Regions from separate parts of the Homo sapiens genome. Here regions 2, 3, 4, 5, 6 and 7 are each linked to region 1. The links are contacts of gene promoters, found by promoter capture Hi-C in blood cells and fetal thymus (Javierre and others, 2016). All regions are on one chromosome and are shown on one strand. Each heading gives the region's core, a stretch centred on a gene start or on the middle of the fragment in contact. The rest is flanking DNA. Distances are from core to core; before and after follow the strand shown. Region 1 holds the start of SSTR4 (somatostatin receptor 4). Region 2 has its middle 75 kb from the start of NXT1. Region 3 has its middle 92 kb from the start of NXT1. Region 4 has its middle 150 kb from the start of LINC01747. Region 5 has its middle 71 kb from the start of LINC03125. Region 6 has its middle 44 kb from the start of LINC03125. Region 7 overlaps LINC03125 (long intergenic non-protein coding RNA 3125).

Region 1 (3,232 bases), core at 263-2,762:
TCTTTCTCAGGGAAGGGTCTCTCTCTTAAGGACAAAGATGTGAAAGGTCTCTCTCTTAGGGACAAAAAGGAAAGGACAGACCAACCTACAGAGTGGAGGAGTGCTAGACCAAATCCTCCCAATACATCTATTTGAGTAGCAGAGACTGGAGACAGTGGTTGAGGTCAACTATGGGGCTGCACTGGTGCTGATCATGCCCGTGCTCCCATCCCACACCTGGATAAACAGCAGTGGGCAGCTTCCCCCACCCCCCAGTCTTAGAAAGGCCTCCTCCAGTTGCAACAGGACTCCCTCCTCCCCATCGCTGTCCCAGCCACCCAGCGGAAAGCTGAGACCCCACCCCCCAGGTGGCCAATTTTAGACCCACTAAAGGCCTTTCTGGGCTGTACTGGGGGCTAAAGGGGGCCACCATCCCACAGAGAAGGGGCCAAAGACAGCCAGGATCCTAAAAGTCAGAGCTACTTTAAGAATAACTTTCCCAGGCCAATCCCCAGTTCAGGAACGTTCCTGTGCCCTGTGCCAGCTAGAGGGACTAGGGCTGGAGCCGGCGGCTGCTCCTGGGTGTCCAGTCCAGGAGCCAGTGAACTCACTATCTCTGGAGTTTAGCAGAAGAAGGGTAATTCCAGGCCGGAACCCCTTTCTTTCCCGACCTCTCGACCACAGTCCTCCCCAGGCACATTTTAGTGGCCAGGGATGGAGACCCGCGGATAATGACTGAACCAGGTCACAGGGTGAAGGTTCTGAGATGTCCGGCTCCCGTAGCTTCTGCCAGTTCCCGAGGGAGCTAGCACAGGCTTGGCCTTCTTTGGTGGCATCTCTGCCTCCACCTGTCCGTCTCCATTCCTTGTGCCCATAGCACCTCAGCTGCTCGGACACAGAAGTTAAAAGGTCCGGCATCTGCACTTGTCCAGAGTGGGTTGGGGAGCAGAGAAAGGAGTGGTGAGCTGTGGGGAAAACTGGACATCCTGACAGACCTGAAATTCACCAAGCCGCCAGTGGAAGCCTCAGGTTCCGCCTCTATAAAAGGGACTCAGCCATGTGCAAGGATGGGTCGTCGCGAGGATTAAAGGGCAGGGTGAGGGGATGTCAAGTGCAAGGCAAGTGGTCCAAGCTTCCAGGTGGTCCCTGACCAGTTCCGGGCACATCTTTACCCAAAGGGAGGACTCCGGGACCCCCAGCCCCGCCGCCGCAGACCCCCTGTAGCAAAGCAGGGAACTGGACCTCAAAGGGCTGCTGGGGAAGACGGGATCTGAATAGAGGTCTGAAGGAAAGAAGCCAGGCGGGGGACCCCGGGAGGGCCGGACGGGGCTGGGGGTGCTGTTGACACTGGAGCCGGACTGGAGACCTGGGAACCTGGGGCAGAGTCGGCAGCGGGGAGGGGGCGACCGAGGTGGGAAAACGGGGCGGGGCCGGAGACGACTCCAGGGCTGGGTGAGGCGCTGACCCCCAGGAGCTGGGGTGCCGAGGGGCGCGGGCCACAGCGGTGCGAGCCAGTCGGGCGCCCGCGCGGTGGGGCGCGCGGCGCGGGGATTGGCGGGCGCTCCCCGGTGCCCGCAGCTCTTCAGCGTAGCCGGGAAGAGCCGCGCGTCTGCGCGCCAGCCCCCGCCCTGGGCCCGCCGCCCGAGCTCTCTGGCGCAGCGCTAGCTCCGCCGCGCTCAGCTGCCCTGCGCCGGCACCCCTGGTCATGAGCGCCCCCTCGACGCTGCCCCCCGGGGGCGAGGAAGGGCTGGGGACGGCCTGGCCCTCTGCAGCCAATGCCAGTAGCGCTCCGGCGGAGGCGGAGGAGGCGGTGGCGGGGCCCGGGGACGCGCGGGCGGCGGGCATGGTCGCTATCCAGTGCATCTACGCGCTGGTGTGCCTGGTGGGGCTGGTGGGCAACGCCCTGGTCATCTTCGTGATCCTTCGCTACGCCAAGATGAAGACGGCTACCAACATCTACCTGCTCAACCTGGCCGTAGCCGACGAGCTCTTCATGCTGAGCGTGCCCTTCGTGGCCTCGTCGGCCGCCCTGCGCCACTGGCCCTTCGGCTCCGTGCTGTGCCGCGCGGTGCTCAGCGTCGACGGCCTCAACATGTTCACCAGCGTCTTCTGTCTCACCGTGCTCAGCGTGGACCGCTACGTGGCCGTGGTGCACCCTCTGCGCGCGGCGACCTACCGGCGGCCCAGCGTGGCCAAGCTCATCAACCTGGGCGTGTGGCTGGCATCCCTGTTGGTCACTCTCCCCATCGCCATCTTCGCAGACACCAGACCGGCTCGCGGCGGCCAGGCCGTGGCCTGCAACCTGCAGTGGCCACACCCGGCCTGGTCGGCAGTCTTCGTGGTCTACACTTTCCTGCTGGGCTTCCTGCTGCCCGTGCTGGCCATTGGCCTGTGCTACCTGCTCATCGTGGGCAAGATGCGCGCCGTGGCCCTGCGCGCTGGCTGGCAGCAGCGCAGGCGCTCGGAGAAGAAAATCACCAGGCTGGTGCTGATGGTCGTGGTCGTCTTTGTGCTCTGCTGGATGCCTTTCTACGTGGTGCAGCTGCTGAACCTCTTCGTGACCAGCCTTGATGCCACCGTCAACCACGTGTCCCTTATCCTTAGCTATGCCAACAGCTGCGCCAACCCCATTCTCTATGGCTTCCTCTCCGACAACTTCCGCCGATTCTTCCAGCGGGTTCTCTGCCTGCGCTGCTGCCTCCTGGAAGGTGCTGGAGGTGCTGAGGAGGAGCCCCTGGACTACTATGCCACTGCTCTCAAGAGCAAAGGTGGGGCAGGGTGCATGTGCCCCCCACTCCCCTGCCAGCAGGAAGCCCTGCAACCAGAACCCGGCCGCAAGCGCATCCCCCTCACCAGGACCACCACCTTCTGAGGAGCCCTTCCCCTACCCACCCTGCGTGGCCACCTCCCAAGGGGTGGGCACCATTCCTACAGCCCCGAAGACTGCATCTCCTGAATGCTCACCTAAGCTCCACCACCTGTTCCTTCCAGCAGCCCATGTACCTGCCGGAGAGTGTCAGAACTCTTCTGCTGCTCTCCTCTCCCCTGCACTCTGGCTTTCAAAAGGATGCTTCCATATGGGTAGGACTCCTCTGGAAACTGGGCTAGGATATTAATCATTCCTGAACCTCTGGCTGTTCTTCAAGGGCTGGGAAGCAGGAGGTGGTGAGAAATGAATGGTCCCTGTGTGTGACTCCTTACAGCCACTGCTTGGGAGAGGACTCAAGAAGGTGGAGGGAGGTAGCACCCTTCC
Region 2 (3,232 bases), core at 414-2,913, 240 kb after region 1:
GTGGGATGGAGGTTCTGCATTGCTGACCTGCCAAGCCCTGGGAAAATGAGGCCATGCCATGTGTGGACAATACACTCCCAGGTACTGTCAATCATGCTGGTCCAGGGACCCCACTCTGAGCGGCAAGGATGTGGAGCACCTCTTCCAAAACTGCCTGCGAGGCATGGGGCACAGTGGGCCCAAGCCTGGACCCCCTTGGTCCTTAGGGCATCGGGGCAGCCAGACTCAGGGGGCCAGAGCAACATCCTTTGATTACCCCAGGTCATCACAAATACTTGTCCCATAAATACATTTTTCTTTGTGTATCTTGACATGAAGGTTGGAAGTTCTGCATAGCTCTGTGGTTCTTAGCATTTACTGGGGCACAGACTCCAATGAAAGCAATGGGATCCCTTACCCTAGAAGGTAACTCACAATATAAAAAGCTTTGCCTTCAATTTCAAGAAGTCCGTGGATTCTCTAAACTCATGCATCATTCAGATGAAAACTAGTGCTATGCCTGCAATGTTTCCAACTCCATTATACAGTTTTGAAACGCTGTGGGCACATCCGCTCCTCATGGCCCGCAGTGTCCCAGGTCTGAGTCTGAGAATGGTTTTCTAATTATGGCCCCTTCACGTCAGAACTTTGACCCTCATCATATGATTCCACCAAATAGCAGTGGAAATGCTCACATTAACTCTGAAAGCAGTGGTGGCGCAAACTCCATGTTGTCAGAGACAAAGTTGTTTCAACAAAACACGCCCACTGCAAGAAACTGTAAATGCTGAATTTAAATTGTTTCGGGTTTATTTATATTTAATTTATAAATGTGGGTTGGTTTCATAGTGGTCTAAGGCCCGTAAGCAACAAGGACTTACATCTACTTTGAGGTTTGTACAGATTCAGATAAATTACAATAAAATAAGTCAACACCAAAAAAGAACAAAAATTATTTTCCCATTTAAAAGGAATTTGCACAATTCCAAATTTGAAAAACGCTGCCCCATAAGTCCCCAGGCTATGCCAGAAACTCAAACCCTCTCTCCCTGCAGATTTGCTGCAGAGCAGCCTCAGCTCAGCAGGCTCCACGCCTACCTAACCTGAGGTGCTGGGTCTGCGCCATGGTGAAGCGGATGGCGTTCTTATGAAGCTTAAGGGCTTATGAAGTGGATTTTGCCTGCGACACATTCCCCATGTTTTGGCGTCAGAGGCTGGCCTGGTGATGTTGCCTGTGGGCTGTGAGCTCAGGGCCTCCTGCTGCCCTGATGCCCTCATGCCTTTCCCATTTACCTCTCAGTCCACCAGGTATTTCCACCGTGGGGGTCTCTTCTGTCAGAAACATAGATCACCACCTTTGACAAAAAGGCAAAGACAGTGAAGGAGAGGAAGGGAGAGTGGAATTCACTCTGCTTTCCAGCCACGGGCCAGGTACTTAATCAACACATACACGGAATTAACCACTATCATCCCCTCTTTACAGACTAGGAGGCTGAGGCTTAGCAGGTTAAATTTCTTACCAGGGTCACATAACCAGCGAATGGAAGAGCTGAAGTGAGAATGTGGGTCTCTGCGGCTCTTTCCACATGGCCCATTGTGCCTTTGGATAATTTAATTCATGACAGCACTTCATTTTCTAAACAAATTCCTGATGAATGGGAAAGAGGAGGTTTTGAAGGGAAAGGAAGAATATTAGAAATATGAGGAACAAAAACCTTAGAACACAGAGAAATATCTCAAGGAGGAGAATGAGTAGACATAGCTGGGGTGTGTCTATGGGACAAAGAACAACTTGCTCATTGAGAGGACTTGGGAGGTTGAGAGAGAGAAAACTCACCAGGCCAACTCTGCTGTTGTCCTGATTTTCTCGAGTTCCCACTGGAAACATCAGTAATACCTGCTGATTTATTTAGGTGCTTATATAAAGTTTCACAAGTTTAAAGTAGTGCTCAGCTGGTTATGTATTCCATCCAACCATCCAGTGAGTCTTAGAAAGTGGATTAGTCGGGGTCTCCAGAGAGACAGAACCTGTAGGATGTACAGGCATATCTAATTTTATTGTTCTTGCTTTATTATGCTTTGCAGGCATTGCATTCTGTACAAACTGAAGTGTTATGGCAACCCTGTGTTGAGCAAGTCTATGGGCGCCATTTTTCCAACAGCATGTGTTCACTTCATGTCTCGATGTTACATTTTGGTAATTCTTGTAATATTTAAAGCTTTTTTGTCATTATTATATCTGTTACAGTTGTCTGTGGTCAGTGATCTTTGATATTACTATTGTAATTGTTTTGGGGCACCACAAACTGCACCCATATAAGACAGTAAATTTAATCAATAAATATTGTGTATGTTTGTTCCATCATCCAGCTGTTCCCGCATCTCTCTGTCTCACCTTGGGCCTCTCTATTCCCTGAAGCATAACACTATTAAAATTAAGACAACTAGTAATCCTACGGTGAACCTCTAAGTGTTCAAGTGAAAGGAAGAGTCACACATTTCTCACTTTAAATCAAAAGCTAGAAACCATTAAGCTTAGAAGATAGGCTTCTTGTGCCAAACAGTTATTCGAGTTGTGAATGCAAAGGAAAGGTTCTTGAAGAAAATTAAAAGTGCTACTCCAGTGAACACATGAATAATAAGAAAGTGAAACATCCTTACTGCTGAATTTGAGAAAGTTTTAGTGGTGGAGTTAGAAGATCCAACTAGCCACAACATTCCCTTAAGCCAAAGCCTAATCCAGAGCAAGGCCCTCTGCTCTAATTCAGTGAAGGTTGAGAGAGGTAAGGCAGCTGAAGAAGAAAAGTTTGAAGCTAGCAGAGATTGGTTTATGAAGTTTAAGGAAAGAAGCCACCTGTAAAAGCCATAATGTAAAAGCACAAGAAACTGCAGCAAGTTATCAAGATCTAGCTAAGATAATTAATGAAGGTGGCTAAACTAAACAGATTTTCATAGATGAAACAGCCTTCTATCGCAAGAAGATGCCAGCTAGAACTTTCATAGCTAGAGAGGAGAAGTCAATGCCTGGCTTCAAAGCTTCAAAGGACAAGCTGACTTTTTTTAGGGGCTAATGCAGCTGGTGACTTTAAATTAAAGCCAATGCTCATCTTCCATTCCCAAAGTCCTAGGGCCCTTAAGAATTATGCTAAATCTACTCTGCCTGTGCTCTATAATTGGAACAACAAAGCCTAGGTAACAGCTCATCTGTTTACAGCATGGTTTCCTGAATATTTGAAGCCCACTGTTGAGAAAT
Region 3 (3,232 bases), core at 392-2,891, 220 kb after region 1:
AGCATTTAAGTGCTCCATGAGTGCATGGTGGATCTGATCATCCTATCTAGGGCTAGAAAAAGAAAGGGTGATGTATAAAAACACCCAGGAGCACACGTCCTCATACACGTCGTTTTGCATTTGCCCTTAATAACAAGGACAGCTCAGGAAACGTAATTTGGCAGTTCAGCCCTGGAAGCCTTATTCCCACCTTCCCACCTGTTCTTTCCAATAGCTCACCTTCCCCAGCAGCGGCCAGCCCTGCAGTGTCACTCATCATTGATAAGACCCTGGAAGGCGTGTTCTGACCCCGGGAGCACAAACACAATAGACACAGAGACAGATGCCTCCCCCGGGAGCAGATGAGCCCAGCCCCTCCCACTTCCCCCAGACCCTGCCCTCCATCCTGGCTGGAGCCCAAGGGGCCCCACGCCCACCCAGGAGGAAGAGGCTCCGCTTCCACACCGGGTTCCAAGAGACGCACCCCCACCTCAAGGCAAGTGTACCAGTGCCAGGCCAGAGAGAAGCTGGCCACTTTTCTCTCCCACAGTAAAAGTGCTATGTAAGCAGAAACCCACCCAGCTACTTAAGCGCACAGACCTGTCTATTCGGGCAGCGATTCCTCAGCTCCACACCCAGCATACTGAAGAAGTTGGGAGTTGCAGGTGAAAAAAATCACTCAGGGCTTCCAGGTTTCTACAACTGCTTAGCAGACACCTTACTCATCTGAGCCCTCACAGAGCACTGTGACCACAAATAGGCCAGCACTTTCATTTCCAATCTACAAATAAAAAATATCAGGCGCAGAGCTCTTTCTCAAGGAGGCACAGCTAATGTCAGAGCCCAGGCTCTGCCCCAGGCTCAGGGCCTTCAATAATCCTGTGCTACCTAAGGAGCAGTTTTTATCCTGTGTGGTTTGTCTGGAAAGGAACACAGCCCCCATCCCAGAAGGGCGTGCCTTCATGCTCACACCACAGGGTCACCTCATAGGCTGCCATCCCTTTTCTCCTCTGTCAGTATATACATGTTTCCACCTGAGGATCAAGAGAAGTGTGGCCCAGTAGCCGGGGAATTGAAGCAAAAAGACCTAGATGTGAATCTGGTCTCTGCTGCCCTGGGCAAGTGTGCTACAGTGTTCCAATCACAGCTCATTCAAAATCACGAGAGGATAATCACCCCTGCCTGGCATCGCAGTGCAGAGGCATAAAAGCAGCATTTATAAAGCCCGATGCCATACCTCCCAGAGTGAGCCTTATCAACAGCAGCCATCATTATGCCATTAAACACTCAAAAGGCTTTCTTTAGAGGAGAAAGGATTGCATCATTGATTAGAGGTTGGCCTGAATTTGTGCAAATGTTGTTGGTGAGAAAGCTTGGTGCCTGATGACTGATAAACCCAGAATGCAATATTGCTAGGATTTTTTTATAGTCAGCCTCCTCTTTCCAATAACCCCCTGCTCACTCCTAAGCCACTTAGGCTGAGCAAGAGGGAATTAACCTGGGCGAGTCCAGAGCGGAAGCCTGAATGGCCCATTCATCTTTCAGTAGCTGACAATGGGTTGCATATTACTTTATAAGCTCTACAGTTTAGTGTCAATGAAGCCTCGGTGTTTTTAAAGCTCCTGTTATGCCATCATTACTTCAGATATGTGGAAAATTCACTTGCAAGCATAACATTTTTCACAGTTTGTGATTTGTATCAGGAAGTGACTCAACTTCCTCTAGGCTCCAAGGCAGTCATAGCTGGGAAGGGGAAAACTCTGTCTGCCAAGACCAAGGGAACCAACCAGCTGCATCATAAACCACACCATTGTGGAATATATCCTGCTAATCTGGCTAAAGATGACTGCAGGACAAAATTTCCAGGGTGAGAGTGCCCTTCAAGAGCCCAGCACATTGGGAGAAAATAGACTAAGATCAAAAATCCCTATGCATTCTAGAGCAAAACCATAAAAGCTTATACCAAAGATCAAGGGTTGCAAGCCATCTGACTTCTCTGCAGCCACACTGGAAGCTACAAGACATAAATCAAAGACATAAGACTTTCTCTTAGCTGCGTGTGGTGGCAGGTGCCTGTAATCCCACCTACTCAGAAGGCTGAGGCATGAGACTCGCTTGAACCAGGGAGGTGGAGGCTCCCCAGCCCATTGCCCAGGCTGGAGTGCAGTGAGCCGAGATCACTCCACTGCACTCCAGCCTGGGTGATAGAGTGGGACTCTATCTTAAAACAAAAAAACAAACAAACAAACAAAAACTTTCTCAATTGTGAAAGTAAATAATTTGCAACCTAGAATTCTATACCTGGTTGTCTTACTCCATTCAGGCTACCATAACATAATGCCTTAGATTGGGTAATTTATAAACAACTGAAATTAATTTCTCACAGTCCTGGAGGCTGTAAAGTCCAAGATCAAGGTGTCAGCAGATTCAGTGTCTGACGAGTGCTCAGTCTCTACTTCATAGACAGCCAGCCCCTCCCTGTCTATGCAAATGGTGGAAGGGACAGATAAGCTCCCTGGGGTACTAATCCCATTTATGAAGGTTGAGCCCTCATGACCTCATCACCCCCCAAAAACCCCACCTCTTAATACTATTGCACTGGGGATTTGGTTCCAACATAAGAATTTTGGGGGGACAAACAACATTCAGATCATAGCACCAGCCAGTCAATTAAGTAGGAAGGTAGACTGTAGACATTTTCAAATATGTGAGATCTCAGAAATGTTCCTTCACTTCTCTCTCTGAAGAAGCTACTGGAGTTTGTACTCCATCAAATTAAGAGAATGAATCAAAGAATGTGGTGAGACAGAATCCAAGAAGCAGAAAATCCAGCACAGGAGAGGAGAGGAGACTCTCTGGAGGAACTCCAAGTGAAGATGCCAGGATGGCAGTGATGCACCAGATCTAGACCTCAGTCCAGACTGGAGGAGTCAGGGGCTCTAGGAGAGACTTCTTCAAGAAAAAGAAATTAAGAGTATCTGGTGTGGATATCTTAAGTAACTGGAGGAGAGTTTGAGAATAAATTAGTGATTTGTATTTGAAAAGTACAAAAACACAATCATGAACCCCAGGAAAAACAAAAAGTCATGTAAGCAGGAAGAGCAATCATAGTACTACCAGGCTCAGTTGTCAATGAGGGTGACATTACCACAAAATAAAAACGCTGAATAGGGGGACTTCACAAAACCTGCAGTGTGATTGTCCTGAAAAGAAGAGAGGATGGAAGTGCAGCCATGCATGCCTGTGTGTGTAT
Region 4 (3,232 bases), core at 234-2,733, 200 kb before region 1:
CTTCTCTCATCTTCTGCCAGAAATCTGTCAGGATTTCCTTGCTCTGTAAGTTGAATCTAGATCCTTAGAAAATTCAACCTAGATGGAAGGATAAAGGTGCTTTATTTCTGAATAAAAAAAGTTGAAGGGTGATCCAATGACATTTTTCAACAGGGAATACTTATTGTACAGATGGTGACCAGCTCTTCCTTTCACTGAGTCAGGGCAGTCATGGGGACTGGGCTTAAACACAGGTTGTCCAGATAGGAGGCTCTGCTGGCCCTGGAATGAGAGCCTAAGAGATCTATCAGCATTCTTTTTTTTTTCTCGGAGTCTTGCTCTGTCGCCCAGGCTGGAGTGCAGTGGTGCGATCTTGGCTCACTGCAACCTCCGCCTCCTGGGTTCAAGCAATTTTCTGCCTCAGCCTCCCAAGTAGCTTGGATTACAGGTATTTGCCAACTCGCCCAGTGAATTTTTGTATTTTTAGTAAAGACTAGGTTTCACCATCTTGGCCAGGCTGGTCTTGAACTCCTTACCTCGTGATCCACCCGCCTCAGCCTCCCAAAGTGCTGGGATTACAGGTGTGATCCACCACGCCCAGCCAAGAGATCTATCATCTTTCCTAGAGATGTGAGTTGATGAATAAGACTGGTACTTGTCTATCTTTTAGACTTTGGTTAATAGACTGTTCTCCGAGGTGGACCATAGCATTAAATGGAAGCTTGTTGCACTATCTGGAGAAATGTTTGTCAAATAGAATATTTTAGGGTGTATGTGTATGGGTTAAATTCAGGAAATATGCACCACCATAAATATTTATGAAGCTATTAGGTTAGTGCAAAAGTAAAATAATGGCAAAGACCGCTATTACTTTTGCACGAATCCAATATAACTGAAACATCCTGTTGTTTTTCCTCTTCTATCTCTGAAACACACCTCCTCTCCATCCTTAGTGACCCCTTCATGGTGATGTCGGTGTGTTTTAATATCTTCAGGAGTCCCTCTCCTCTCCTAATGGCTTTTTCAACAGCCAGACAGCAAGACCTAAGCAGGGCCAGGCCATCCTTGTAGGCGCCCCTGTGTCCTAGGGTGCCTGATAAGTGCTGGCTGCTGTGAGTTACTGAGTAACACCTTGTATTTTGTCAACAATCTGGGTAACAAGCTCACCCAAATTTTAATGAAAACACATTTACAATGTGTGAATTGTGTTCATTTTTAAAGCTTGAATTGTATCCATTTTAAACCTTATTCTATAGCACAAGTAACTGCCACTTTGAGTTGTATAACTTTAGATGGGCCTTGTGATTTCTGAGCCCAGGAACAAAATGTGTGTAACAGGAGTGATCAGGCTTGCCTAATAACTTTATGAGAATTAAATAAGATAAGGAACATGAAACCACTCCATCGAGTATACAGTAGGGGTATTTTAATTTTACTTTAATTAAAGGAATTAAAATGGGATATGAAATGTATGAAATGAAGTGGATTGCTGCAGAATAGCTCTGACAACAGGGACAGGCATGTTTGGGAACACTGTCTCAGTCCCCTCTTCTAGGTCTGCCTCCTGCAAGAGCAACAGCTGGGCTTGGCCGAGGCCAGGCAGGTACTATCCATTACACTTTACTGTTAAGGCTTTTCAACAGCTATTGAAGGAACTGACCCACTGTAATGTCAAGTTTTCAACAACATAGGAAGAAAATAAAGAAATGCTAAGGAAAAATTGTTTTTGCTGCTTATAAATAAAAGTACAAATTGATATTAGAAGAAAAATGCTATAATAGATAACGAAAAGCTTTAGTGAGTATTAAAAAGGAAAAAAAAAACAAGGTGTAAGGAAGAAAGAGCTAGGAGAAAGCAGGCTGAGCTCATCAGGCCTGCTGTGGTAAAGATGTAAAAGTTTGCCATTTTGAAGAATAAAAATATGACTTTATGGTTTATATCCTGAAATCATATGCTCTATTACACCATCAGTTTCTTTCTCACTGAGATGAGTGCTCTTTTTCCTTACAATAAGTACATTTTTCTTTTTATTTTTACTAGGATCCAAGACTTCAAAGAAAACCTATAAATTTAATAAAGTTTCTCCTGAAACCTACAACAAAGAAAACAATGACAAAGGAATTGCCCACAATTCTGTGACTCCCAGTGAATACCACAGAAGAGATGGCCACACTGGGCTCTGCTACCAGTTTTTAGAATCGTGAGACAATGCAGTAGTAGAAAGAAAACTAAGAAAATCAAGTTTCTGGGCTGCTATCTGCCTGTTTCAAGCCTCAGATTTTGCAAATATCTATTTTATAGAATCAGCAGAAGCAAGCCAATAATGTCTTTATGCAGTCTACTTGAAAGCAAAAATAACAAAGACGCCAGTCAATACTTTGAAAATGATGTTTATACTAGCCTGGGACTCATTGTTTGCTATGTTTATTAATACAACTAAACAAGAAATCCTCTCCACTTAAAGGCAGCACAGAGAGGATTTCATGTTGAAGAAATGCCCACAGTAGTGACAGTACAACTTGCAGAGGACTAAGTCATCTTTTCTCACATGCTGAGTCCTAACACCTAATTATCAGCTAACACCATTTCTGATGTTTTAGCATAGAAACCTTTATTATCTTAACACTGGATGCTAATAAGACATTGTTAATTTCTAAAACAAACAAACAAACATGGACCTAAAACCTGACTTCCCTAGGAAATAAAAACCCTTTCCTTGAACACCACAGACTCTACAGAGTACAAAGTGCTAGCAAATCATAAGCATTCCCTTATAAATATCAAGATCAATATTGAAGTAGCTCAGGATTGTACTTGACAGGATTTGAGCTTTATTGGTGGAATCTTAAGGTCTCCCACAGTGGTTTTTGGTGTTGATAAAGTTGGCATTTATTTATGACTTGAGTCCTTGCCTGGGGGCTGCAGTCAGAAGCAGCAGGATTTTGTCTAAAGCCAAAGACTTCCTTCATCCTCAGAAAGGAAGCAAGGAGCTGTTTTTCCTCTTCTCATTTGTCCTGCAACTGTGAATTTGTCTCTGGGGCTCCGCTCTGTTGACTTTAGAGAAGCTATGCATACACTTGGTCTCATTCTACTCTAAGACTAAACTGCAAACACAAACCACTCTATAAATTGGGAGATTAATTTCTTTTGAGAAGGCTCAACTAAAGTACCAAGTCTGCTTGTAGGAATAACCTTTAAAAATCAAACAAGCAATTTATAAAAGTCAGAAACCATACCCGGAAGGGTCAGTGTT
Region 5 (3,232 bases), core at 202-2,701, 180 kb after region 1:
ATGTGAAAGTGATTTTATAATTAGTTTTGGGGTTTACTACATTATCATGGTTTTCTTAAATTTTTTAATTATTTCAATATTTTTGGGGGAACAGGTGGTGTTTGGTTACATGGACAAGTTCTTTAGTGATGATTTCTGAGATCTTGGTGCACCCATCACCTAAGCAGTGTACACTGTACATATTGTGTAGTCTTTTATCTCTCACTCCCCTCCTACACTTCCTCTCAAGTCCCCAGAGTCATTCTTGTGCCTTTGCGTCCTTATCGCTTAGTTCTCACTTATGAGTGAGAACAGAGGATGTTTGGTTTTCCATTCCTGAGTTACTTTACTTAGAATAATGGTCTCCAACTCCATCCAGGTTGATATTAATGCCATTATTTTGTTCCTTTTTATGGCTTAGTAGTATTCCATGGTGTGTGTGTATATATAGATATAGGTATAGATAAAGATATAGATATATAGATATAGATATATAGATATAGATATAGATATAGATATAGATATAGATATAGATATAGATATATCCCACATTTTCTTTATCCACTTGTTGGTTGATGGGCATTCAGGTTGGCTCCATATTTTTGCAATTGCAAATTGTGCTGCTATAAACATGCATGTGCAAGTATCTTTTACATATAATGACTTATTTTCCTCAGGGTAGATACCCAGTAGTGGAATTACTAGATCGAATGGTACTTCCACTCTTAGTTCTTTAAGGATTCTCCATACTGTTTTCCATAGCGGTCGTACCGATTTACATTCCCACCAGCAGTTCCCTTTTCACCACATCCACACCAACATCTATTATTTTTTGATTTTTTGATTATGGCCATTCTTGCAGGAGTAAGGTGGTATCACATTGTAATTTTGATTTGCATTTCCATGATAAAAGTGATGTTTAGCATTATTTCACATGTTTGTTGCCATTTGTATAACTTCTTTTGAGAGTAGTCTATTCTGTTCTTAGCCCACTTTTTGGTGGGATTATTTGTTTTCTTCTTGCTGAATTTTTTAAGTTCTTTGTAGATTCCAGATATTAGTCCTTTGTTGGATGCGTAGTTTGGGAATATTTTCTCCCACTCTGTGGATTGTCTATTTACTCTGCTGATTATTTATTTTGCTGTGTAGAAGTTTTTTAGTTTAATTAATTTCCATCTATTTCTCTTTGTTTTTGTTGCATTTGCTTTTGGGTTCCTGGTCTTTGCCTAAGCCAATAGATGAATTTTTCTGATGTTATCTTCTAGAATTTTTATGGTTTCAGGACTTAGTTTTAAGTTTTTGATCCATCTTGATTTGATTTTTGTGTAAGATGAGAGATAAGAATCCAGTTTCATTCTTCTACATGTGGCTTGCTAATTATCCCACAAACATTTGTTGAATAGGGTGTCCTTTCCCCACTTGATGTTTTTGTTTGCTTTGTCAAAGATCAGTTGACTGTAAGTACTGGGCTTTATTTCTGGGTTCTCTATTCTGTTCTATTGGTCTACATGCTTGTTTTCATACCAGTACCATGCTGCTTTGATAACTATAGCCTTGTAGTATAGTCTGAAGTCAAGTAATGTGATACCTCCAGATTTGTTCTTTTTGCTTAGTCTTGCTTTGGCTATGTGGGCTCTTTTTTGTTTCCATATGAATATTAGGATTTTTTTCTAGTTCTGTGAAGAATTATGATAGTATTTTGATGGGAATTGCATTAAATTTATACATTGCTTTTGGCAGTATGGTCATTTTCACAATGTTGATTCTACCTGTCCATGAGCATGGGATGTGTTTCCATTTGTTTGTGTCATCAATGATTTCTTTCAGTGGCGTTTTGTAGTTCCCTTGTAGAGATCGTTTACCTCTTTGATTAGATATTTTCCTAACTATTTTATTTTTTGCAGCATTGTAAAATGGGTTGTGTTCTTGATTTGATTCTCAGCTTGGTCACTGTTGGTGTATAGCAGTGCTACTAATTTGTGTACCTTGATTTTGTATCCTGAAACTTTACTGACTTTATTTATCAGATCTAGCAGCTTTTTGGATGAGTCTTTAGGGTTTTCTAGGTAAACAATCATGTCATCAGCAAACAGTGATGGGAATTGCATTGAATTTATAGATTGACAGTTTGACTTCCTCTTTGTCCATTTGAATGCCCTTTATTTCTTTCTCTTGTCTGATTACTCTGGCTAGAACTTCCAGTGCTATGTTGAATACAAGTGGTAAAAGTGGGCATCCTTGTCTTGTTCCAGTTCTCAGGGGAATGCTTTCAACTTTTTCCCATTCAGTTTAATGTTGGCTGTGGGTTTGTCACAGATGGCTGTTATAACTTTAAGGTATGTCGTTTCTATGCCGATTTTGCTGAGGGCTTTAACCATAAAGGAATGCTGAATTTTGTCAAATGCTTTTTCTGCATCTATTGAGATGATCATGTGGTTTTTAATTGTGTTTATGTGGTGCATTACATTGATTGACTTGTGTATGTGAAGCCAGTCCTGCATCCCTGGTATGAAACCCACTTGATCATACTGTATTATCTTTTTGATATACTGTTGGATTTGTTTCACTAGTAGTTTGTTGAGGATTTTCGCATCTATGTTAATCAGGGATATTGGTCTGTAGTTTTCTTTTTTTTAAAATTATGTCTTTTCCTGGTTTTGGTATTAGGGTAATTCTGGCTTCATATAATAATTTAGGAAGCATTCCCTCTTTCTCTATCTTTTGGAATAGTTTCAGTAGGATTGATACCAACTCTTCTTTGAATGTCTGATAGAATTCAGCTATGAATTCATCTGGTCCTGGGCTTTTTTTGTTGGCAATGTTTTTATTACTGTTTCAATTTCACTACTTGTTATTGATCTGTTCAGAATTTCTATTTCTTACTGTTTTAATCTAGATGGGTTGTATATTTCCAAGAACTTATCCATCTCCTCTAGGTTTTCTAGTTTGTGCGCATAAAGGTGTTCATAGTAGCCTTGAATTATCTTTTGTATTTCTGTGGTATCAGTTGTAATAGCTCCCATTTTGTTTCTAATTGAGATTATTTGGATCTTCTCTCTTTTCTTGGTTAATCTTGCTAATGGTCTATCAATTTTATCTTTTCAAAGAACCAGCTTTTTGTTTCACTTATATTTTGTATTTTGTTTGTTCCAATTTTATTTAGTTTTGCTCTGATCTTTGTTATTTATTTTCTTCTGCTGGGTTTGGGTTTGGTTTATTCTTGTTTCTGTAGTTCCTTGAGGTGTGAGCTTAG
Region 6 (3,232 bases), core at 294-2,793, 160 kb after region 1:
TGAGAAGGAAGGAGGAAGATAAAAAATGAAACCAGGACAGAGAAGAGAGGGAGGTTCTGGGTGTATTTGCTTTGGGATTACATGTGCGCATGTCTTGTTTTTCCCTTTTATATCTCCCTCATCTGAAATATGTAGCAAAGAAAAATTTAAGCTGTAAGAGGGAAACTTTTTCCAAACAGTGAAGTTTACCAAACTGTGGCCTGAGATCTATATTCACATTCTAAAAAACCATGCCCAATTCCCCACGCTAACAGCAGCTCCAGACCAAAGAGCAGCTCTTGTCTTGACCAAAGTGAATAACTATCTTAACACGAGGTGACTAGAAACCATCTGTCTTGAGACCAGAGAGGAGACCTGTGGTCAGTGACGCTGTTCAGCAAATACTTGCCATTCCTGACCTCCAGGCTCAAGGAGGGATTGGCCACCCTGGTCCCCTAGGAAGATGGGGCCATGTGCTGGCTCTGGACAATGGTCATGATGGAAATGGCATCTGCTCTTGCAGGCCAAAGAGTTTAATTGCCTCCAGAGCTCTCCTTCCCTCTGCAACAGTGACCTACAATGTCCAGGTAGCAGTCCTTCCATCACCTTGAATCTCAGAGTAAGAATGACATGGAGTAGAGCCCCCCAGGTAAGCTGTATTGAACATGTAACATGTAGATGAAATCAACTGTTGTTTAAATTCACTAAGTGTGAATTACATAGCACAACTATACTTATCTTAATTGACACAAGATGAGTTTGTTTCTTAGCTGACCAATAGCAAAAATCCAATAAACAGATGAATAAATTAATAAATAGATGGATGAATGGATGGATGGATGGATGGATCAGTGGATGGGTGGGTGGATAGATGGAGCTGTTAGATATGGCTCTTTGTTTATAAATCTCAACCACAAACTTTGTCACTTCTCCAGAATAAAACTCCTACATGGTAGGGACTCTGTGAATGTTATTAAAATGAGAGAGCTATTAGAAGCCAAGAGATGAGGCTGATTTTTACCTCTGGCTTTAGAATATTTGGTGCCACTGTGTATAAGCTTTACCCACCATTGACAAAAAGGGACCCACTATGGACACCTCAGGAAGTTCTTCAGCCTGCAGGCACTTCTGTTCCGGGTAGGGATTCAGGTTATCTAAACTCCAACCAAGTGTGACCAATAACTCTTGTTGCTCCTATAGCCTCAGCAAGAACACAAGCAAATATGCTCTCATTTTTGATAAAAAGCATGTCTATGATTGTTGATGTGCAAATATAAAGAGCCAAGCATGGAGAAAGAAGAACAAGAGTTAAAACATACCTCAGTGACCACCACCAGCCCTTACATACCTGCCCTGTCCTGGTCCCCTTCTCCAGGTGCCCTCTTCAAAGTATCCCAAACCAGAGAAACAATATAACCAGTGACCATCAGGGAGATTTCAGTTCCAGACCTAGGACCTGCAATGAATTTCAGGGGAAAAGTGCTTTCCTTTTTTATCATCTACTCAGAGGATGTTGACTGACAGCTAAAACTACTCAAAGGGTACAAAATTCAGCCTTATGGTTTCAAGAATAGTCAACCCTGCATGTGAAATCATCAGAGAATGGAGATTTGCCCCCTGTCCAGGCAGGCTCTTAAATTTGCAGTTCAGATATAAAAAAAAGGTCTCACTTGTTTACTTATCTGTTTTGCATATATTTTTTATTTTCTGTTGAGTATGATATTTGATATAAAAAAAAAAAAACTTTTTAGCTGAGGATGGCTTCTGGGGTTAGCCAGTTCTTAGAGACAGCAGAAGACTCAGCTGGGAGCATGCCTTTGATGCACCAACTAACCCATCCAGAGCCATTCCCTTCTATCTGGCCTGTACATCTCAAAAGGCAATATTCCTCTACCTTGACAAGCCCAGGGCCAGCTACCAGGCAACTAGAGACCACCAAAAGCCCCCTAAAATTATTCCAATTGGCCAATTCTAAATTGTTCACACTGCCCTGTTTTGCCTTTTCCATCGAAACCAAAATAAGGACTGAGGTCCAAGCTGTCCCTAGCTCCTGTCTTCTGCCATCTGACCAAAGCTTGGTGCTTCCAATGTGGCCCTGAGTTGTATGTGGTGGCCTCCTCTCTGGAACTGTGCGTGTAGTCAACTTTGTCTTTCTCACGTCTCCTTGGTGGTGGCATCTGACTGATTATCTCATAAAGAAACACAAAACATTACTGTTTCTGTTTCTGATCTTTAAAGCCAATGAGAATAGACATGCCCAGTGCTGCTGGGCAGGGCAACAGGCGCTCAGCACTGCTGTGGGAAAATGAACTCCTGCAATCTTTCTGGAGGGCAAACATCAACAAGGCTTGCCAACCTTTAACATGTGCACACACTGCCTCCCAGCCACTCCAATTCTAGGAATTTATCCTAAGAAGATAATGAGTTAATTGCAAATATGAATATCCAAAAGTGTTTATCACTGTTTAACATAGAATCATGAAAATTTGGAAACAACTACCATGGACTATGGTAGGGGATGGAATAAATAAACTTTGATGCCATATGCAGTAGAATGCATAAAACCTGCATTTGAAAAAAGTATTGTGTGCCACGAGAAAATACTGTATGATAAAGATCTTTTAAGGCTCTATGACATTTTCTGTATGATTCCGTTTAATTGTGTAAGTCTGTATATAAACAATGCTATTAACATCAACATGCTCTGTGGTGGGTTATAGGAGATTTTTATTCACGTCTCAGTACTCTTCTGTATTTTCAAATTCTTGACTGTAAAAATCTACTTCTCTAGAATAAGAAGAAAAAATCTATAATTTTTTAATTGATGGGGAAACAAACCTTGAATGATAGGAACCAACAGTTTTGTCAGTTATTCATAATTAATGCTATCAGTATTTAGTAGTTCTCTTCAAGCATGCAGGTTTACAAAACACCACTGGTTTATCATCTTGTGAATCAAGACCCATTTTCTTGAGTATAGAGGCTCTGGCATGGTGAAAACACTGAACACTTAATTCACAAGAGCTCAAGCAAGACTTGGCAAAAAAAGAAAAAAAAATCAAATCATTTTATGGATAAAGAACAAAGCCAAGGTGGAGATGGCCCCTTTCTCTTCTTTGTTAAAACTGATCATTGATCATTGATGGAACATGGAACTTGGGGTTTGGGGGGATTTGTTTGTTTGTTATTTGTGGTGGGGAAAAAAGTTTTCAAAATAGGCTTTGGCATAGCCCTGCCTGGGGTCAGGCTGAAC
Region 7 (3,232 bases), core at 256-2,755, 130 kb after region 1:
CATTGACTCCCACCTATTTAGAAGGTTCAGGGATCTCCAGGAGGGAAGTGGGGATAATGGTGCCATGGAATGGAGCTCTGTCAAGCCAGCATTACTAGGTGGGCAACGGAGCTTAATGCTTGCATAGAGGCTCTAGGAGACTGGGCAAACCCCGGGCCTCAGAGGCATCCTGGGCAGGGCAAGGGAGCTGGTGTGCTCTGAGCAGCTGGCTCGGGCCTTGGCCAGGAGCTCCTCCCGGGATGCTTGTTTCCTGCACTTCCAGGCACCTGCAGTGTGGGTGGCACAGCCCCAGTGGCTCTGGGAAGAGCCTTTAGGAACCAGAATGACTACACCAGCAGGTCCTGGGAAGTTGGGCAGAGCCCTGGGAGGATGGGCGGGACACGGCCAGGTCTGCCACAGAGAGAAAAGGGCCAAGGAGGGAAGGTGGGCAGGTGGCATCGTGCAGAAAGGTAAGATCTGTGTGTGAGAGCACTCTTGTGAGATTTCCACAACCATTTATTCTACCTGGCTTTAATTTTTAGAAACTTAAATGTTAGAAAACACTAATTGATGGCCGGGCACGGTGACTCGTGCCTGTAATCCCAGCACTTTGGGAGGCTGAGGCGAGTGGATCACTTGAGGTCAGGAGTTCAACACCAGCCTGGCCAATATGGTGAAACCCTGTATCAACTAAAATTACAAAAATTAGCCGGGCATGGTGATGGGCGCCTGTAATCCCAGATACTTGGGAGGCTGAGGCAGGAGAATCGCTTGAACCAGAAGGCGGGGGTTGCAGTAAGCCAAGATCGTACCACTGTACTCCAGCCTGGGTGACAAAGCAAGACTCTGTCTCAAAAACAAACAAAAAAACAAACAAACAAAAAACACTAATTGAGAGGTATAAGCAGAAAACATCTGGCATGACTAGCTATCACAGCCTTTCCCCACCAAAGACAAAACAAAGCAGATCTTGGCATCAGTGTGTGAATGTGGCAGCACACAGGAGACAACGAAACTGGGTCATCCCAGGAAAAGCCCTGCAGAAGGTCCCATCTTCAGCCATAGAATTTTTCCCAGGCCTTCCTTGGATGGGCTCAGTTGGGATGTTTTTCTTTTGTCTGGCTTCTTTGGATCAGTTACAGTGTTTTGTGAATAACTACTTCATTCTTTGTTATTGATGAGTAATACTCCATTGTATGGATGCATCACAGTTTATTTATTCACTCAAATGGCCACGGGGGCTGATTTCAGTCTAGGGCCGCTGGCTGAATTAAGCTGCTGCAAGCACATAAGGACAAGTCTTCTTGTAGACATGTTGTCCTTTCTCTTGGGTAAAAACCTCCGAGTGAAATTGCTGGTAAGTTAAAGTTCCACTTTATATATACTAAAATAAAAAGCCACCAATCTATTTACAAATACAAATGGTGGTGGAACTTACCATTGATATTTTTTAAAAACAACAATACTTGAATGATCATTATCAAAAGAATAGAAAATACTAAGAAGTTTCAAAACATAATTTAAATTATCTGAAATAGCTTCAAGTAGCAACAACCTTTTTTTAAATTATACCTTAAGTTCTAGGGTACATGTGCACAATGTGCATGTTTGTTACATATGTATCCATGTGCCATGTTGGTGTGCTGTACCCATTAACTCATCATTTACATTAGGTATATCTCCTAATGCTATCTCTCCCTGCTCCCCCAACCCCACGACAGGCCCCGGTGTGTGATGTTCCCCTTTCTGTGTCCAAGTGTTCTCATTGTTCAATTCCCACCTATGAGTGAGAACATGTGGTGCTTGGTTTTTTGTCCTTGCCATAGTTTGCTGAGAATGATGGTTTCCAGCTTCATCCATGTCCTTACAAATATCATGAACTCATCATTTTTTATGGCTGCATAGTATTCCATGGTGTATATGTGCCACATTTTCTTAATCCAGTCTATCATTGATGGACATTTGGGTTGGTTCCAAGTCTTTGCTATAGTGAATAGTGCTGCAATAAACATATGTGTGCATGTGTCTTTATAGTAGCATGATTTATAATCCTTTGGGTATATACCCAGTAACGGGATGTCTGGGTCAAATGGTATTTCTAGTTCTAGATCCTTGAGGAATCACCACACTGTATTCCACAATGGTTGAACTAGTTTACAGTCCCACCAACAGTGTAAAAGTGTTCCTATTTCTCCACATCCTCTCCAGCACCTGTGGAGAACATATTCTTGTCAATACTTATTTGATTGCAAAGAACAGAAATGATGTTAAGCAAGAAAAAGAAGGGATTTTCTCAGAGGGACACAGAGGTGTCTCTAGGTGACAAGGGCTAGGAGATGCAGCTGAGCTTCATGGTAATGACTGATCCCCACGTGGCCATTCTCATTCTCTCTCATCTCTCACTCTGCCTCTCCCTGGGCTGCTGGGCCTTTTCTCTCCACTGCCCCTATTCTAGTGTCCCTGCTGCAGAACATCTCTTGCTGGTTCATGGCACAGCGTGGCCTCCCTCCCTGAGTTGTCCTAATGCAAAAGCATTTGTGCACAGCACTGGCTGTGTGCCGGGACCCTTTGTTTCTATTCTCAAAAGAAAGAATCTAACTGGCCCAGCTCTGCTCAGCTCTCCATTCCTGGTTTTATCAATGTGGCTCGAACAGGGTCCCTGACACAAACCTGGCCACTAGGGAAGTGAGCAGGAGTAGACATTCCCGGGGAGAGTCGTGAGTAGGAAAACTGGCAAGTGTGGCTAACATGGCGCCTCCACCAAATGCCTTGCTAAAGAATACGCTCTACATCTGCTTTCTGAAAATGTAGTGATATCTTGTGAATACCCTTCCATGACATTGAAAATATGCCTGCACTGCCATTTGGAGGGACCATAGCCTGGTATCCTCTAACGTGATGTGCCAATACTGACTTGACAAATCCTCTACTGCTAAACACTTAGATCACCTTCAATTATTCCCTCTAATAAACTATACCTTGATGAACATTTTTGTACATAAATATTTTATTTTTCTTAGGATAAATTCTCTAGACCATGATAGAACCAATATCCAGTGGCATTATTTAATTTTAGCTTCACAATAACACCTTGATATAGGTATTAGCACCCCTACTTTACAGACATAAAAACTGAAGTAATGTAAAAGTAGACACAGCTCTTACATTTAAACACCTGGGGAGCGAGAGAACTGGCATTCAAACCTGAGTAGGAGTCAGAGAAAGATCCTGGGTCTGAAAATAAGCCATGGAT

What was found. Contacts are between HindIII fragments. The CHiCAGO score rates a contact against its expected background, and 5 or more counts as called.
Region 2: a fragment that was not itself captured here is called in contact with the fragment with the promoter of SSTR4 in region 1 in 1 of 17 cell types (monocytes); the score reaches 6.7 in monocytes.
Region 3: a fragment that was not itself captured here is called in contact with the fragment with the promoter of SSTR4 in region 1 in 3 of 17 cell types (monocytes, M0 macrophages and neutrophils); the score reaches 9.4 in monocytes.
Region 4: a fragment that was not itself captured here is called in contact with the fragment with the promoter of SSTR4 in region 1 in 2 of 17 cell types (megakaryocytes and M0 macrophages); the score reaches 5.7 in megakaryocytes.
Region 5: a contact is called between a fragment that was not itself captured here and the fragment with the promoter of SSTR4 in region 1, in 2 of 17 cell types (neutrophils and monocytes). The highest score is 9.9, in neutrophils.
Region 6: a fragment that was not itself captured here is called in contact with the fragment with the promoter of SSTR4 in region 1 in 2 of 17 cell types (neutrophils and monocytes); the score reaches 7.9 in neutrophils.
Region 7: a fragment that was not itself captured here is called in contact with the fragment with the promoter of SSTR4 in region 1 in 1 of 17 cell types (neutrophils); the score reaches 10.0 in neutrophils.

The regions. Positions count from the first base shown.
Region 1 is chr20:23,033,800-23,037,031 of GRCh38, forward strand. SSTR4 (somatostatin receptor 4) reads left to right here and starts at 1,513. Exons shown (of 1, transcript NM_001052.4): 1 at 1,513-3,232. The coding sequence starts at 1,685. The coding sequence ends at 2,851. RefSeq lists an enhancer at 2,054-2,600. The HindIII fragment of the contact is 5,481 bases long and covers 1,110-3,232 here.
Region 2 is chr20:23,273,814-23,277,045 of GRCh38, forward strand. No RefSeq gene overlaps it. Among named protein-coding and RNA genes, the nearest start is that of NXT1, 75 kb to the right of the region's middle. The HindIII fragment of the contact is 1,066 bases long and covers 1,131-2,196 here.
Region 3 is chr20:23,256,919-23,260,150 of GRCh38, forward strand. No RefSeq gene overlaps it. Among named protein-coding and RNA genes, the nearest start is that of NXT1, 92 kb to the right of the region's middle. The HindIII fragment of the contact is 584 bases long and covers 1,350-1,933 here.
Region 4 is chr20:22,838,321-22,841,552 of GRCh38, forward strand. No RefSeq gene overlaps it. Among named protein-coding and RNA genes, the nearest start is that of LINC01747, 150 kb to the left of the region's middle. The HindIII fragment of the contact is 571 bases long and covers 1,199-1,769 here.
Region 5 is chr20:23,216,998-23,220,229 of GRCh38, forward strand. No RefSeq gene overlaps it. Among named protein-coding and RNA genes, the nearest start is that of LINC03125, 71 kb to the left of the region's middle. The HindIII fragment of the contact is 8,690 bases long and covers 1-3,232 here.
Region 6 is chr20:23,190,394-23,193,625 of GRCh38, forward strand. No RefSeq gene overlaps it. Among named protein-coding and RNA genes, the nearest start is that of LINC03125, 44 kb to the left of the region's middle. The HindIII fragment of the contact is 1,016 bases long and covers 1,036-2,051 here.
Region 7 is chr20:23,166,485-23,169,716 of GRCh38, forward strand. All of the region lies in intron 2 of LINC03125 (long intergenic non-protein coding RNA 3125), which reads left to right. Among named protein-coding and RNA genes, the nearest start is that of LINC03125, 20 kb to the left of the region's middle. The HindIII fragment of the contact is 5,643 bases long and covers 1-3,232 here.